Linked DNA regions of Homo sapiens: regions 2 and 3 are each linked to region 1. The links are contacts of gene promoters, found by promoter capture Hi-C in blood cells and fetal thymus (Javierre and others, 2016). All regions are on one chromosome and are shown on one strand. The core of a region is centred on a gene start or on the middle of the fragment in contact, and the rest is flanking DNA. Distances in the headings are between cores, read along the strand shown. Region 1 holds the start of TFAP2E (transcription factor AP-2 epsilon). Region 2 has its middle 33 kb from the start of SFPQ. Region 3 has its middle 13 kb from the start of SFPQ.

Evidence for each region. The method cuts DNA at HindIII sites, captures the fragments that hold promoters and counts their contacts. A CHiCAGO score of 5 or more calls a contact.
Region 2: a fragment that was not itself captured here is called in contact with the fragment with the promoter of TFAP2E in region 1 in 1 of 17 cell types (M2 macrophages); the score reaches 5.2 in M2 macrophages.
Region 3: a fragment that was not itself captured here is called in contact with the fragment with the promoter of TFAP2E in region 1 in 1 of 17 cell types (monocytes); the score reaches 5.6 in monocytes.

The regions. Positions count from the first base shown.
Region 1 is chr1:35,571,241-35,575,739 of GRCh38, forward strand. TFAP2E (transcription factor AP-2 epsilon) reads left to right here and starts at 2,074. Exons shown (of 7, transcript NM_178548.4): 1 at 2,074-2,364; 2 at 2,687-3,169; 3 at 3,709-3,760. The coding sequence starts at 2,338. TFAP2E-AS1 (TFAP2E antisense RNA 1) reads right to left here. Exons shown (of 3, transcript NR_183387.1): 2 at 3,120-3,458. RefSeq lists enhancers at 2,038-2,537, 2,779-3,525. The HindIII fragment of the contact is 6,124 bases long and covers 382-4,499 here.
Region 2 is chr1:35,157,808-35,162,306 of GRCh38, forward strand. No RefSeq gene overlaps it. Among named protein-coding and RNA genes, the nearest start is that of SFPQ, 33 kb to the right of the region's middle. The HindIII fragment of the contact is 4,233 bases long and covers 432-4,499 here.
Region 3 is chr1:35,178,306-35,182,804 of GRCh38, forward strand. It overlaps a transcript of SFPQ not described here. Among named protein-coding and RNA genes, the nearest start is that of SFPQ, 13 kb to the right of the region's middle. The HindIII fragment of the contact is 1,769 bases long and covers 1,793-3,561 here.

The DNA.
Region 1 (4,499 bases), core at 824-3,323:
AAAGAAGACAGAAATGGTCGGAGTAGGACAATGAGGCAAAAAGGGGCTATCAAAGGTGTAGGAAGTAGATTGAGAAAACCCAAGGAAGCCACAGACAGGCAGCACATCCCGCCACTCTGGCCTTCCCAAGCTGCTGGAGAGAGCAGGGGCATCCCCGCAGCTGGGCACAGGCATCATCTCCTTTGCGGCTCCTAGACTTCTCCCAGAGGAGTTCATCAATTTCTATTCACGCACTGACACCTGTCCTGGAGCTTGACTTCTGATGCCCTGTGGCTGGGGTTGAGGGAGGGAGGAACAGGGCATTGCCACAGACTCCCTCATATATAGATACACACAAACACAATCCTGATCTCTGACCCATCTCGAGCAGGAAAGTTGCAAAGCTTCCCAATTCCGCTTCATCCTCTGGAACCTCGCTGGCGGTTCCAGACTTCAGAAAGTTCTTAATGATGAATCCTTGGCTTCTAGCCTCCTTCTTTCCCCACCACTCCCCAGGCTGAGATCATCCAGCCCTGAGCTCTGCACCTGCCATGTGCCTTCTGGGATACCCACTTGGAACCATATATTCCATGAGTTAATGGTGTCACTATCACCTCCTCTTCTATATCAATAATTTTACCTTAATCTTCTCATTTACTACTTCACTAAAAAGGGACCTAAAAAAACAACTAGTCTTCTCTGCCTTCCCCTACTTTTTTATTGGTGTTGTCGAAGTTGCAGAAACTGAGATCACAGAGGAAACGGGATGTAGCTAGGATCACACAGTTAGGCAGAGTCAGGACTAAATCCAAGCCCCTGAGTCTGAGGCAGTAGAGAATAGTGATTCTGAGCAGAGAGGGGCCAGGGGCAGATCACCCCAGCTCTGCCACTTAGCTGCTTGACCTTGGGCAAGCCATTTAACCTCTCCATGCCTCACCCCTCCCCTGAAAATGGGGATGATATGGGTATCTCTTTCATAGAGCTGCTGTGAGGGTTAAAGAACCCAATATTCGTGAAGCACTTTGCACAGAGGCTGGCACATTCTGTAATAAGTCTGCTGTGATTATTTCTACTTTGCCCTGGTCTGCACATCTTGCTTTTAAAAAACATCTTTCTTCTGCTTTCTTAATTCCTGTTCTCCTTAGCATTCCTCTCATTTGTCCATCTTTAATCCCTGTCTCTGCTTGTCAGGAGGGGAGGGTTGGGTTTGGGGAGAAAGAGAGAGTGACTACAGAGACTGGAACTTGCTTGACAGCCAGGGAGTGCCTGCCATGGTAACACAGGAACATGTAGCCTGCGCATGTTAGTGTAACAATCACACGGCATCCATGCTAGTCAGTTACACACAGTCACTCAACAGTCTCTGGGTATCTCATGCCCACACTCAATCAGCCCAGGACCCTGTGGCTTCAGAAATATCTTGGCCCCTTGTCAGGTGGAGCTCATACCCAAACCCATCCCAGGCAAGTCTCTCTCTCTGTCTGGCCAGCTTCTGTCTCCAACTCCCTCAGAGCCTGGCTTGGCTTGGAAGTTTTCAGCCCAGGAAGCCTGAGAGCGAAGTGGGCACCTTCGAGGGATTTTGATCCAGAACCATTCAGGAAAGACTGTGATGGTAGACCCCCTAAACACACGCACTGACACTGTGTGCGCATGAGCAGATAGGCTGGAGTCTTCAGCTCACAAACTTCTTCCACGTTCCCGATTACCCACCTCATCCAAAGTCTCTTGAGGTGCTTAGAGAAAGGATTGATACCTATTTTACCGAGGAAGCTGAGGCCAGCGAAGAATAGTGCTTTGCTTAAAGGCAAGGATGTGATAGAGCCAGGCAAATGTAGGGCCCTTGCGTCCCAGCCTCGAATATTTCTGTTTCACTGCAGCTGCGAGCTGCGAGCCCAGAAGGCGGCTCTGATCAATGTGGGCTGAATTCACGCCCCCTACCCACCCTACCCGATCCCGCCAAAGCCACTGCCTCCCCTGTGGCAGCCGCTGGGGAAAAGGGAGAGAACTGCCATAGCTTGTCTCTTTAATGCGCGCCCCCGGAGGCCCGGCGCGCCCCCGCCACTATAACTGGAGTGCATGGAGCAGGCTACGCTCAGAGGAGGAAGGGCGGGCGCTGGGCACCCGTTGACCGACTTTTCCAAGTGCGATCAGTGCCCGTCCGTCCTGCCTCCATGGACCCGCCCGGGAACGGCCACCGCTGAGGACCCCACGCCCACTAGGATCCCGGCTGGGTCGCACCCAGCTACCGCACCGTGACCTCCGCGGGCTGTGCCGGCTCCCGGCGCCTCTGCCCGCAGCGCTCGCCGTCGGGCTAGGGCTCCGCCGCCGCCACGCCTCGCGCCCGGCACTCACCGCCCCATGCTGGTGCACACCTACTCCGCCATGGTGAGTAGTCTCGGGCCCGGGACATATTCGGCCGGGGGATCGGGGCGCCTGAGTGCTGGACTTTCCAACCCTCCTGTCCCGCGCTAACGAAATCTCGGAGGGAGGGGGCCGCAGGGACTTCGCCAGCTGAGAACGCGATGCGCAAGTGACCGCTGTCCCCAGCCTGAGGCTCCTGCGCCCGCGGGTGGCTCGGAAATAAACCTCGGGCCCCAAGAAACGGGAGGGACTGCAGCTGAACCCTCCCGAGCTGAGGAGGATCCTTTCAGGCTGGGGTCCTTTCAGCTGCCAGTGGGTCACCTAAGGCACCCCTCTCCTTCCCCAGGAGCGCCCCGACGGGCTGGGAGCAGCTGCCGGCGGGGCCCGCCTGTCGTCTCTGCCCCAGGCGGCCTACGGGCCGGCGCCCCCGCTCTGCCACACGCCGGCCGCCACAGCTGCCGCCGAATTCCAGCCGCCCTACTTCCCGCCGCCCTACCCGCAGCCACCGCTGCCCTACGGTCAGGCGCCCGACGCCGCCGCAGCCTTTCCCCACCTGGCAGGGGACCCATATGGCGGCCTGGCGCCCCTGGCGCAGCCGCAGCCTCCTCAGGCCGCCTGGGCCGCGCCCCGCGCAGCCGCCCGCGCCCACGAGGAGCCTCCCGGCCTGCTGGCACCGCCCGCCCGCGCCCTGGGCCTTGACCCGCGCCGTGACTATGCCACTGCCGTGCCCCGGCTCCTGCACGGCCTGGCCGACGGCGCGCACGGCCTGGCAGACGCACCTCTCGGCCTTCCGGGGCTGGCGGCGGCCCCCGGTCTGGAGGACCTGCAGGTGAGACCCGAGGGATCCGGGATGGGTCGGGACTGGCCGCGGTGGTTTACTACCATGGCTGGAGGCAGAAGGTGACAAATGCAGGAAGCCGACTTTTCTCCCAGCTCGCCACATCTCACTGGTGACTCCGAGGATGTGTCCCACCTCCTGGGTTAGACGTTGCCTGGCCATCAAGGCTGCCTGGCACTGAGTCCGCCAGCAGTGCGTGGGTGGCAGCAACCCTCGGCAGGGACCGAATCACTTCTTTTCTCCCCGCTGCCACGTGTGGCATCCATGGGGCAGCCTGCACCTGGGGCGAAGAGAAGCATAATAGTTACCAGTGTAAGATTCAAAATTCCCTTTTTGCACTGCACAGTGAGATGCCCAGGGCTCCAGCTCAGTGCCTGGACATAGCGATTCCTGGGCCTGCCCGTCGCCGCCCCAAGCGAAGCTGGTGCGCCTTGGGCGGAGCAGACAGAGACCCTGGGTGGCAGGGGCTTGGGAAGACATGGGCGGCTAGGGCTTTATGCGCCCTCACCGCTGCCCTCTGCTATTTGCAGGCAATGGACGAGCCGGGAATGAGCCTCCTAGACCAGTCCGTGATCAAGAAAGGTAAGGAATGGTCTGTCAGGGCAGAGCCCGGCGAGATGGTGCAGGCCCTTGGTGCACAGATCCATTTTCTTCACCGGCCGTGCCTCCTGTGTGTCGCCAGGCTGGGTGTCCACCAGGCACTCTTCCTGGCCCAGCCAGATGTTAGGCAGACGTGCGGGCTTGGTGAGTTTGCCCAGCACCCTGTGGCCTGGGGTGGGCCTCAGCGGATCAGCATTCACTGGGCTGCAGCACTGGGAGCCTGGCCTCTCCCCGCCGAGGGGGAGGGCACTCTTGTGGATCTGGAGTTGATTTGCAGAACGAGTTAAACCACTTCCCTGTTTCCCTAAGAGATGGGAATGGAAGTGCTGTTCCCACGGAGTTGGGGAAATGATTTTCACTTTACAGTGCCTTAGCATTTCGGTGCCTGGCGGGCACTTTCTTCCTCTTCCTTCCAGGCAGGGCCTTGGAGGCCTCTGGGGGAATTTTCTTTCTGTGGGAGTCTCTTGCGGCATTTAGACTTAGGGGAGCTTGTGTGTGAGTACTGTGTGTTAGGCTGTGTGCACCTGAGTCAGGGCCCACCTGCTCCTGGGTGTCTGTGTCCATGTGAGTTCAGGGTCCTGTGCATGTCTGAAATGTTCCCTTCATGGGTGTCTTAGTATTTCTTGGAGTGTGAGTGTGTCTGTTTCTGTGAATGTGTTTGTGAGGTGTGTCTCTGTATGTTGGTGTGCATTTCTCTGCATTTGGGGGATGTACACATTTC
Region 2 (4,499 bases), core at 1,298-3,797, 410 kb before region 1:
CTGAGCAGCTTGGGCAAATTTTCTTGGTAGAAGGTGGTGACCTGCTAGATGAAATTTGCTCAGTAATCCACAGTATGGAAGAGCTGAAAAGTCCAGTCCTGTAATAAGCAGTGTGCCTAATGAAAGGTAATTTTACAATCAAGGCCAGGCGCGGTGGCTCATGCCTTTGGGAGCATGAGCACTTTGGGAGACCCAGGAGGGCAGGTCACTTGAGCTCAGGAATTCAAGACCAGCCCGGGCAACATGGTGAAACCCCATCTCTACTAAAAAAATAGAAATTAGCCAGAGGTGGCGGTGCACACCTCTGTAGTCCGAGCTACTTGGGAGGATGACGTAGGAGAATTGCTTGCCCCGGGAGGTTGTGGTTGCAGTGAGCAGAGATCAACAATAAGAACCAGAAACTTCAAGAGCTACGGTCAGAGCTTTAAAAAAGCTTTATTCTCACTAGGAGAAAAAACAGCATTAGATAGAACGTGACTATTAAGTATAGTTTCTTTCTTTTATAGAGCTTTTCAGTATTGAAATTTAATATTATGTTGAATATTATAACCAGTGTTTAAATTTTGGACATTGCCAAATTTAAAATTTAAAAATAGCGCCGGGCATGATGGCTCACACCTATAATCCCTGCACTTTGGGAGACTGAGACAGGTGGATCACTTGAGGTCAGGAGTTTGAGACCAGCCTGAACAACATGGTGAAAGCCCATCTCTACTAAAAATACCAAAAATTAGCCTGGTGTGGTGGCAGGCGCCTGTAATCCCAGCTACTTGGGAGGCCAACACACGAGAATCGCTTGAACCCAGGAGGCGGAGGTTACAGTGAGCTCAGATCACGCCACTGCATTCCAGCCTGGGTGACAGGGTGAGACTCGGTCTCAAAAAAAAAAAAAAAGAAAGAAAATTATTAGAATACATTACATTGCGTAGATACAAAAACTAGGTATTTCTTTAGGAGACTGAGGCGGGTGGGTCACTTGAGGCCAAGAGTGCGAGACTAGCCTGGGCAACGTGGTGAAATGCTGTCCCTACTAAAGAAACAAAAATTAGCCGGGTGTGGTGGTGGGCTCCTGTAATCCCAGCTACTCGGGAGGCTGAGACAGGAGAATCGTTTGAACCCGGGAGGCAGAGATTGCAGCGAGCTGAGATTGCACCACTGCACTCCAGCCTGGGTGACAGAGGGAGACTCCATCTCAAAAAAAAAAAAAAAAAAACAAGGAAAAGAAAAAGAAAAGAAATAAAGAAACAAACTACTGATAGGCATGGTGGTTCACACCTATAATCCTAGAACTTTGGGAGGCTGAGGCAGGAAGATTGCTTGAGCTCAGGAGTTCCAGACCAGCCTGGGCAACATAGGAAGACCTCATCTCTGCTAAAAAAAAAAAAAAAAATTTTTTTTTTTTTTGAGACACACTCGTTGCCCAGGCTGGAGTGCAGTGATGTGATTTCAGCTCACTGCAACCTCTGCCTCCTGGGTTCAAGCAATTCGCCTGCTTCAGCCTCCCAAGTAGCTGGGACTACAGGCACGCACCACCATTCCTGGCTAATTTTTTTTTTTTTTTTGTATTTTTAGTAGAGACAGAGTTTCACTATGTTGGCCAGGATGGTCTCGAACTCCTGGCCTTGTGATTGGCCCTGCCTTGGCCTCCCACAGGCTGGGATTACAGGGGTGAACCACCACACCTGGCCTGCAAAATTTTTTTTTAAATTTGCCAGATATGGTAGTGAGCACCTGCGGTCCCAGCTACTTGGGAGGCTGAGGTGGGAGGATCACCTGAGCCTGGGAGGTCGAGGCTGCAGTGAGCTGTGATCATGCCACTGCACTCCAGCCTGGGTAATAGAGTGAGACTGTCTCAGAAAAGAACCCAACAAACTATTGATACACCTAACAATGTGTATGACTCTCAAAATAATGCTGAGTGAAAGAAGCCAAATAAAAAAAAGAGGCCGGGTGCAGCGGCTCATGCTTGTAATCCCAGCACTTTGGGAGGCCAAGGTGGGTGGATCATGAGGTCAGGAGTTCAAGATCAGCCTGGCCAAGATGGTGAAATCCCATCTCTATTAAAAATACAAAAATTAGCTGGGCGTGGTGGCTGGTGTCTGTAATCCCAGCTACTCTGGAGGCTGAGGCAGAGAATTGCTTGAACCCGGGAGGCAGAGGTTGCAGTGAGCTGAGATCGCGCCATTGCATTCCAGCCTGGGCAACAGAGGGAGACTCCATCACACACACACACACACATACACACACACAAAACACATGTCAAAGATTCTATTCATATAAAATTCTGGAAAATGGAAACTAACCTATAGTGGTAAGTAAGCAGATCAGTGGTTGCCTGTAGATTGGTAGAGGCAAAGGAGGGATGTATAGGTACAGGAGTCAAGGATTACTAAGGGACACAAGGAAACTTTTGGGGGTGGCAGCCATTTTATCTTGATTGTAATGTGAAAGTTGTTAGAATTGAGATTTAACACTAGGAGTCACTAGTGTTTAAAAAAAAAAATAGAGCCAGGGAAGGCTTGTATGTCTCATAACAGAAGCTATCACAAAAGACCCTTGAAAAAACACAACCTTGCAAAAAAGCCATCACAAACTTACACAAAAAATTCATCTGCAAAGACATCTACCAAGCAACTGCCTGTCCAACCTCAGCCAGGCAACACCCTTGTTAAGGATTTTTATAGCCAAGGATATCATTTCAAAACAATGATGTAATCCTCTTCATTTTTTCCTTTGAAAACCTTTCTCCTCTGTCTTTTTCCTTTTTCTTTTTTTTTTTTTTTTTTTTGAGACAGAGTCTTGCTCTGTCACCCAGGCTGGAGTGCAGTGGTGTGATCTCAGCTCACTGCAACCTCTGCCTCCTGGGTTTGATTCTCCCGCCTCAGTCTCCCCGGTAGCTGGGATTACAGACATGCACCACCATCCCCGGCTAATTTTTGTATTTTTAGTAGAGACAGGTTTTCGCCATGTTGACCAGGCTCGTCTCGAACTCCTGGCCTCATGTAATCCACCCACTTCAGTCTCCCAAAGTGCTGGGATTGCAGGCATGAACCACCGCATCCAGCCAAAACCTTTGTCTTTCTTTACCTATTCAATACATATACATAGTTTACTGTGGCACACATATTCCCATTGCAATGCGTAACTCCTGAATAAATCTCTTTTTCTTTTAGAGAGCCTCTTTCTCTTTATTATTTAGATTGACAGTGGTAATGATCTTATTGGTGTATACATATGTCAAACTTTATCAAGTTTGTACTTCAAATATGTGCAGTTTATTGTATATCAATTACTTCATTTAAGCTGTTTTTTAAAATGTTCATTACGTTTTCCTGTGTAAAATGGAAATTCGTGTGACTATTTATAACTTTTTCCAACTTGTTCTGTCTCTGTTAAAACAAATCTGTTGTATTCAGCTTCCAGCTCAGACAGAAAACTGGTACCAGATTTCCCTTAGTGCTGTAAACAACTAGAAAACTGCATGAAGTATACAAAACAACTGCTGTTCATACATGGTATATGTGTTTGCTAGAGCTGCCATAACAAAATACCAGACTAGTGGCTTAAAAAACAGAAATAGGGGCCAGGCGCGGTGGCTCACACCTGTAATCCCAGCACTTTGGGAGGCTGAGGCGGGTGGATCACAAGGTCAGGAGATCGAGGCCATCCTGGCTAACATGGTAAAACCCCGTCTCTACTAAAAATACAAAAAATTAGGCGGGCGTGGTGATGGGCGCCTGTAGTCCCACCTACTCAGGAGGCTGAGGCAGGAGAATGGCATGAACCTGGGAGGCGGAGCTTGCAGTGAGCCGAGATCATGCCACTGCACCCCAGCCTGGGCAACAGAGCGAGACTCCGTCTCAAAACAAAACAAAACACAACAAAAAAAAACAGAAATAGGCCGGGTGCAGTGGCTCACGCCTGTAATCCCAGCACTTTGGGAGGCCGAGGAGGAGTCAGATCACTTGAGGTCAGGAGTTCGAGACCAGCCTGGCCAACATGGTGAAACCCTGTCTCTACTAAAAATACAAAAATTAGCTGGGCATGGTGGCAGGCGCCTGTAATCCCAGCTACTCAGGAGTCTGAGGCAGGAGAATCGCTTGAACCTGGGAGGCAGAGGTTGCAGTGAGCTGAGATTGTGCCACTGCACTCCAGCCTAGGCAAAAGAGTGAGACTCCATTTCAGAAAAAAAAAAAAAAAAAAAGCCAGGAGTGTATTTTCTCACAGTTCTTGAGTGTAGAAGATCAAGATGGCAGTGTTGGCAGGTTTAATTTCTTCTGAGGTCTTTCTCCTTGGCTTGCAGAGGGCAGTCTACTTGCTGTGTCCTTTCCTGGTCCTCATGTGGTCCACTCATCCATGGTGATTCTTCCTTTTCTCATAAAGATATTAGCCGTAATGGAGTAAGGCCTCACCCGTATGCCTTCATTTTACCTTAATTATTTCTTGAAAGGCCCTATCTACAAATATAGTCACATTCTGAGATACACTAGGGGTTAAGA
Region 3 (4,499 bases), core at 1,427-3,926, 390 kb before region 1:
CAAGTTTGACTGCAACCCAAAATATACTATCCCTTATGTGAAGGTATGTGACAACGTTGACCTCACCAAATGAGTTTTAACATCAGCTCTTTTTTCATATGAAAGCACATACCCTGCTCCCCATTCAAGTATGTCTTCCATTGTCAGGCAGGCTGACCACCTTCAGCAGGAGTCCTCCAAGAGTGCCCAACTCCCCTTCCCACAGTACACAACGCTGTAGTTGTTGTCCTGCAATCCTTTGTATTTACCTCATTCTTTCCCATCTAAGTCCTCACTGAGTTTTAAAGTTAGGGCTGGAAAAGCTATGCCTTACTGGGACAGCAAGGAACCAATTTTTTTCTGAGGGAGAAGACATTCACCTTCACTATATGCCTGGCAGGGCCACAGTGCACAAAACAAAGATCAGCCTTCATTCAAGTTCCAGGTTTTTCTTCCTCCCTGAATGATTACTGCAAAGGGTATATGAAGTAAGAGTTCCCTGTTGCACATGTACCATCCATAAGGGATACTATATCGTTTTGCATTCTTCCCCCCATTCTCCACATTGTCCTATCTTAAGTCCAAGCCCTTTTCACTCTCAAAAAAAAAAAAAAAAATATTTTTTTCAGCACTGGTGTTCAAAAGCAACGTTTTTATGGTTAATGGTTTACCAGCAACTGTTGAGATTTCCAGTTGAGTCTTAAAAATTGCCAATCATTATCTAGCAGCAATGACAGATGATTAGGAGCAGTCAAATCCTCTGAATTCTTTCCCTAATAGGCAGCCATTTGAGAACTGCACTAGCTGACATCACTAAAACATTATCAGCTAAAGCCAAAACCAAATAAAGGCCCAGACCAACATCCTGGCTCTCTAAAACCTGTCCAAAATCATTAAGTGAAAGGCAGTAAATGCAGGACTGTGGATCATGTCACTGCAGCTGACAATGATTAACAATAGGAGACATGCAACCCCCATTAAGGTTAAAAGTCCAAAACTAGTCACACGCATCTCTTTATTGGGGAAAAGTGAGACTATTATGCATTCTTGGTAGGTTTGCAACCTTGCATGAAGAGCACCCATTGCATTTCTTTCATCTTTCAGAAAGCACCGGTATCTGTTCCAAGGGCCTAACAGTACGAAAATACATTCTGGCATCACACCTCTGAACCCAAGACTGTTCTCATTAAAAATAATTTTGGTTTGTAACAAAATTATGAAATACAATGCAAGCACCTCGGTATAGCATTATTACTGAAACCACTTAATTCCCAGCTTTTTGAGTTTTTTAAAAAAACCCACTGCACTAAGATTCACAATTCATTGCTACATACAAATTAAAGCTAGTAAGAACACACTAACGTCACAAGTTTCTCATTCTAAAGTGCAAAAGCCTAATCATCTGAAAGTGAACAGGGTAAGGCAAAATTAACCCCCCACCCCAATAAAGTTCCTGAAGTCCATATATTATATACCAAGTACATTCTCTAAAAATTGTTACTGACTGGTAAGAAATAGACCTGAGTTTTTATTTCTAACACCCAATCACTAAACCACGGCAGCAAGCACTGGCCACCGATTTAATGGATTACGACACAGGAAACCCCATCAGGGTTCTATGTAATTTAGTGATACTCATGTCACTAATATTGAGCATTATACTTGATCTGCATTATATTGTTGATATGCAGAGGCTAAACTAGTCATCATTTGCTCTTTCATCTATCAGTAGAGTCCAAAGTTGTTTGCTTGAATGGACTACATGTTAAAGTACAAGTCTGTCCCCACCTTGTGAATTGCTTGCCAACGAGCAAGCTTTTTCTTGATACACAGAAGAAAAGTCTCATAGTCATGAAGTTTTCATCAGCATTTATGCAAAGTAAACCACTTTCCAGTTACAGAGCAGAAACATTATACATGAAAACTGTCTCTCATGCATGCTAGCTAAAACCAGTTCAGAGACCAAGAAGTTGAAGTGAGGTCTGGAACAACAGTTGATGCAAAGTCCTAAGCAACAAAAGTTGTGCTTTTGAAGACTTAGGTTTTCTTGTAAACATTTTGGACTATAACATCACATCCCTAAAGCTAAGGGAACCAAATTCAAAAAGCTACTCTGAACATATGCAGTCATCCTACAGAAACGACGATGTCTTATGATTGGGAATGATTCCCAACATGTATTCGACTGTAGTCAAGTCAATGTTCCACACCACCTTCCCCCAGGTTTAGAGTATAGACACATTTAGACAAGTCCCATAACTTGAACTATTCACATTAGATTCCCATCTAAGCCCAAGTTAGTAACAATGGTGTTTTCATGAAGCCCATGTTTTTAAAAATTTTAAATCGCATTACAAAAAAACCTGTACTTTTAGTTCAACTCAACTTGTAGAATTACCAAGATTGCATAATGAAATTACTGATATTGCCGATCTATGGGCAGGTCAGTTTGCTACAATAGAGACTAATTATCACATGCTATACGGTCCATGTCAAGGTGCTAAAAGCACCCTAGTTCCCAAGTATAGTTTAGTTCCCTCTCCCCCACACCACTGATGTGTTCCATGTTATCTTCAGTTACAATGCAACTAAAGGAAACCACACAACTGAGTCAGATATACCAAAGAATCAAGTTTGCACTTTTTATCTGAGAACTGCAACAGCACTGAATTCTGCCTGACAAATTACAGCTCTAACCCCACACCCACACAGTTTTGATGTAAGCTAGCTTTACCATACAAGTGTTAGGTGCTGCACTGTAATTTCATTGTCAGAAATGTGATGCCAGAATGCCCACGGAATAAAAGTACATACAAGTCACCAAGTTAGATTATATTGCTTGTTACCTACCTGTATGCAGTCGGCAATGAGAATCTTGGAGCAAGCAGGAATACTACATCCGGGTCCTAATGTCCATTGCCATTTGCGGTACTACGTTCCTCACAGTTACGCACTGCAGAAATGCTGGCTAAATGCAGTTATGTAGCAGGCCACTACTTTAATAGTGCATAATTGCAGTCCAAGAACACCAGAAAACATTCCGCCACAACTTAGTGGCTTGCCCAAGAAAAGCCAAGTATCTAAATTTTAATCTGCCATAATATGCCACTTAAAAATTGCACAGGCGTAACATTACAATTTCCCCATTTTTTAGCTGTTTATATTAGTGGTACAATACATCTATAAAGAGTGGTGGGGTTTGTAGTACTTCTTATGAGTTTAATGTTCTAAGCAAAGAGGATTATGGTTTCACTAACATGAGCCAATGGGCTATGCTTATAAAATACCTATTAAATACACTGGGGTCTTAACAATATGCAGTTTTTAAAGATTAGGAGAAGTATAAAAAACAACCAGTGTTCCTCTTAAAACAAAATTATGAGAAAGTGGAGAAGAGGAAATGGGGACAAGTGGTTTCTTTAAATGAAAAAAATGGCTAAAATACTTCAAAAATTGCTACCTCCCCTTTCCCACCCCAAGTTTCAGATCGACTTTTAGGAAACTATTAAGATTATTTAAATTCACATTAGGCTAAAAACTATCATATATACATTGAAGACTTATTGAAAGTCTATTTGAGTAAGCTTACAACCCTGAGTACATTGCTGTTTTAGTGATGAAAGTCAAATGTCATTTGAAACTAAGCAACATTATTTGCTAAACAACGTTTAGCAACTCTACAGTCCACAGTAAGGGTATCAAAAGCCACAACTTTCAGGAGATTATCCATTAGCATCCTTCACCACTCTTCAAAGGTACAGTACTACCAAAAGCTTATTTTAGGGGGTCTGTGCCAGCATCCCTTATAAAGAAAGGCATGTAATCTGAAAAATAAACTGAAACATTAATTTTATAGGCAGATTTTCCCATTTCCCGACCAGCCCCCACCCACACACATTCAAAGTTCACCCTCTGTGGGTGTCCCATGGAACACCCCTTATTTTCTTGTCTTTAGTAGAGTCCCTACTATATAATTCAACCAAACTGTAATGGATTCCTTTCTAATCAAGACCCTTGTTTCCGTACAGAAAATCTCTTATGTATCACCAATTAATAACCTGTTTGGGGACAAAACTTCCTCACTGATATAATCATGGTAAAACTACTCATATTTCCGAGTGTGCTGGTGAATGATATAATGAGCATTACTTTCTAATGAGATTCTCTCCCTTAGCACACCATGTACCTGTCAGTCATACAACCAGTATTTGGTGAGATGCTTTTATACACTAGTGTTTACTTTCAGCATTATCCTGTTTCCTATGCAGAAAGTGCTCAGATTGTTCCAACAATAGGTCTCCTTTTGTACACAGGCACAATACTAAACTTCAGCATGTTAATAAAGGTTTGACTTAGAATTTTTCTTTTGCCAATTAGCACCAAGAAAAGAGGTGAAAAGGAGGAAGACACATTCCATAGTAAGAATTCTACAATGTACAGATTTGAATGGAACGTAACTCAGAACAAAGCCAAACCATTCAATTACTTTACCTACTGTTAGGAAGCTGTTCCTCTAACAT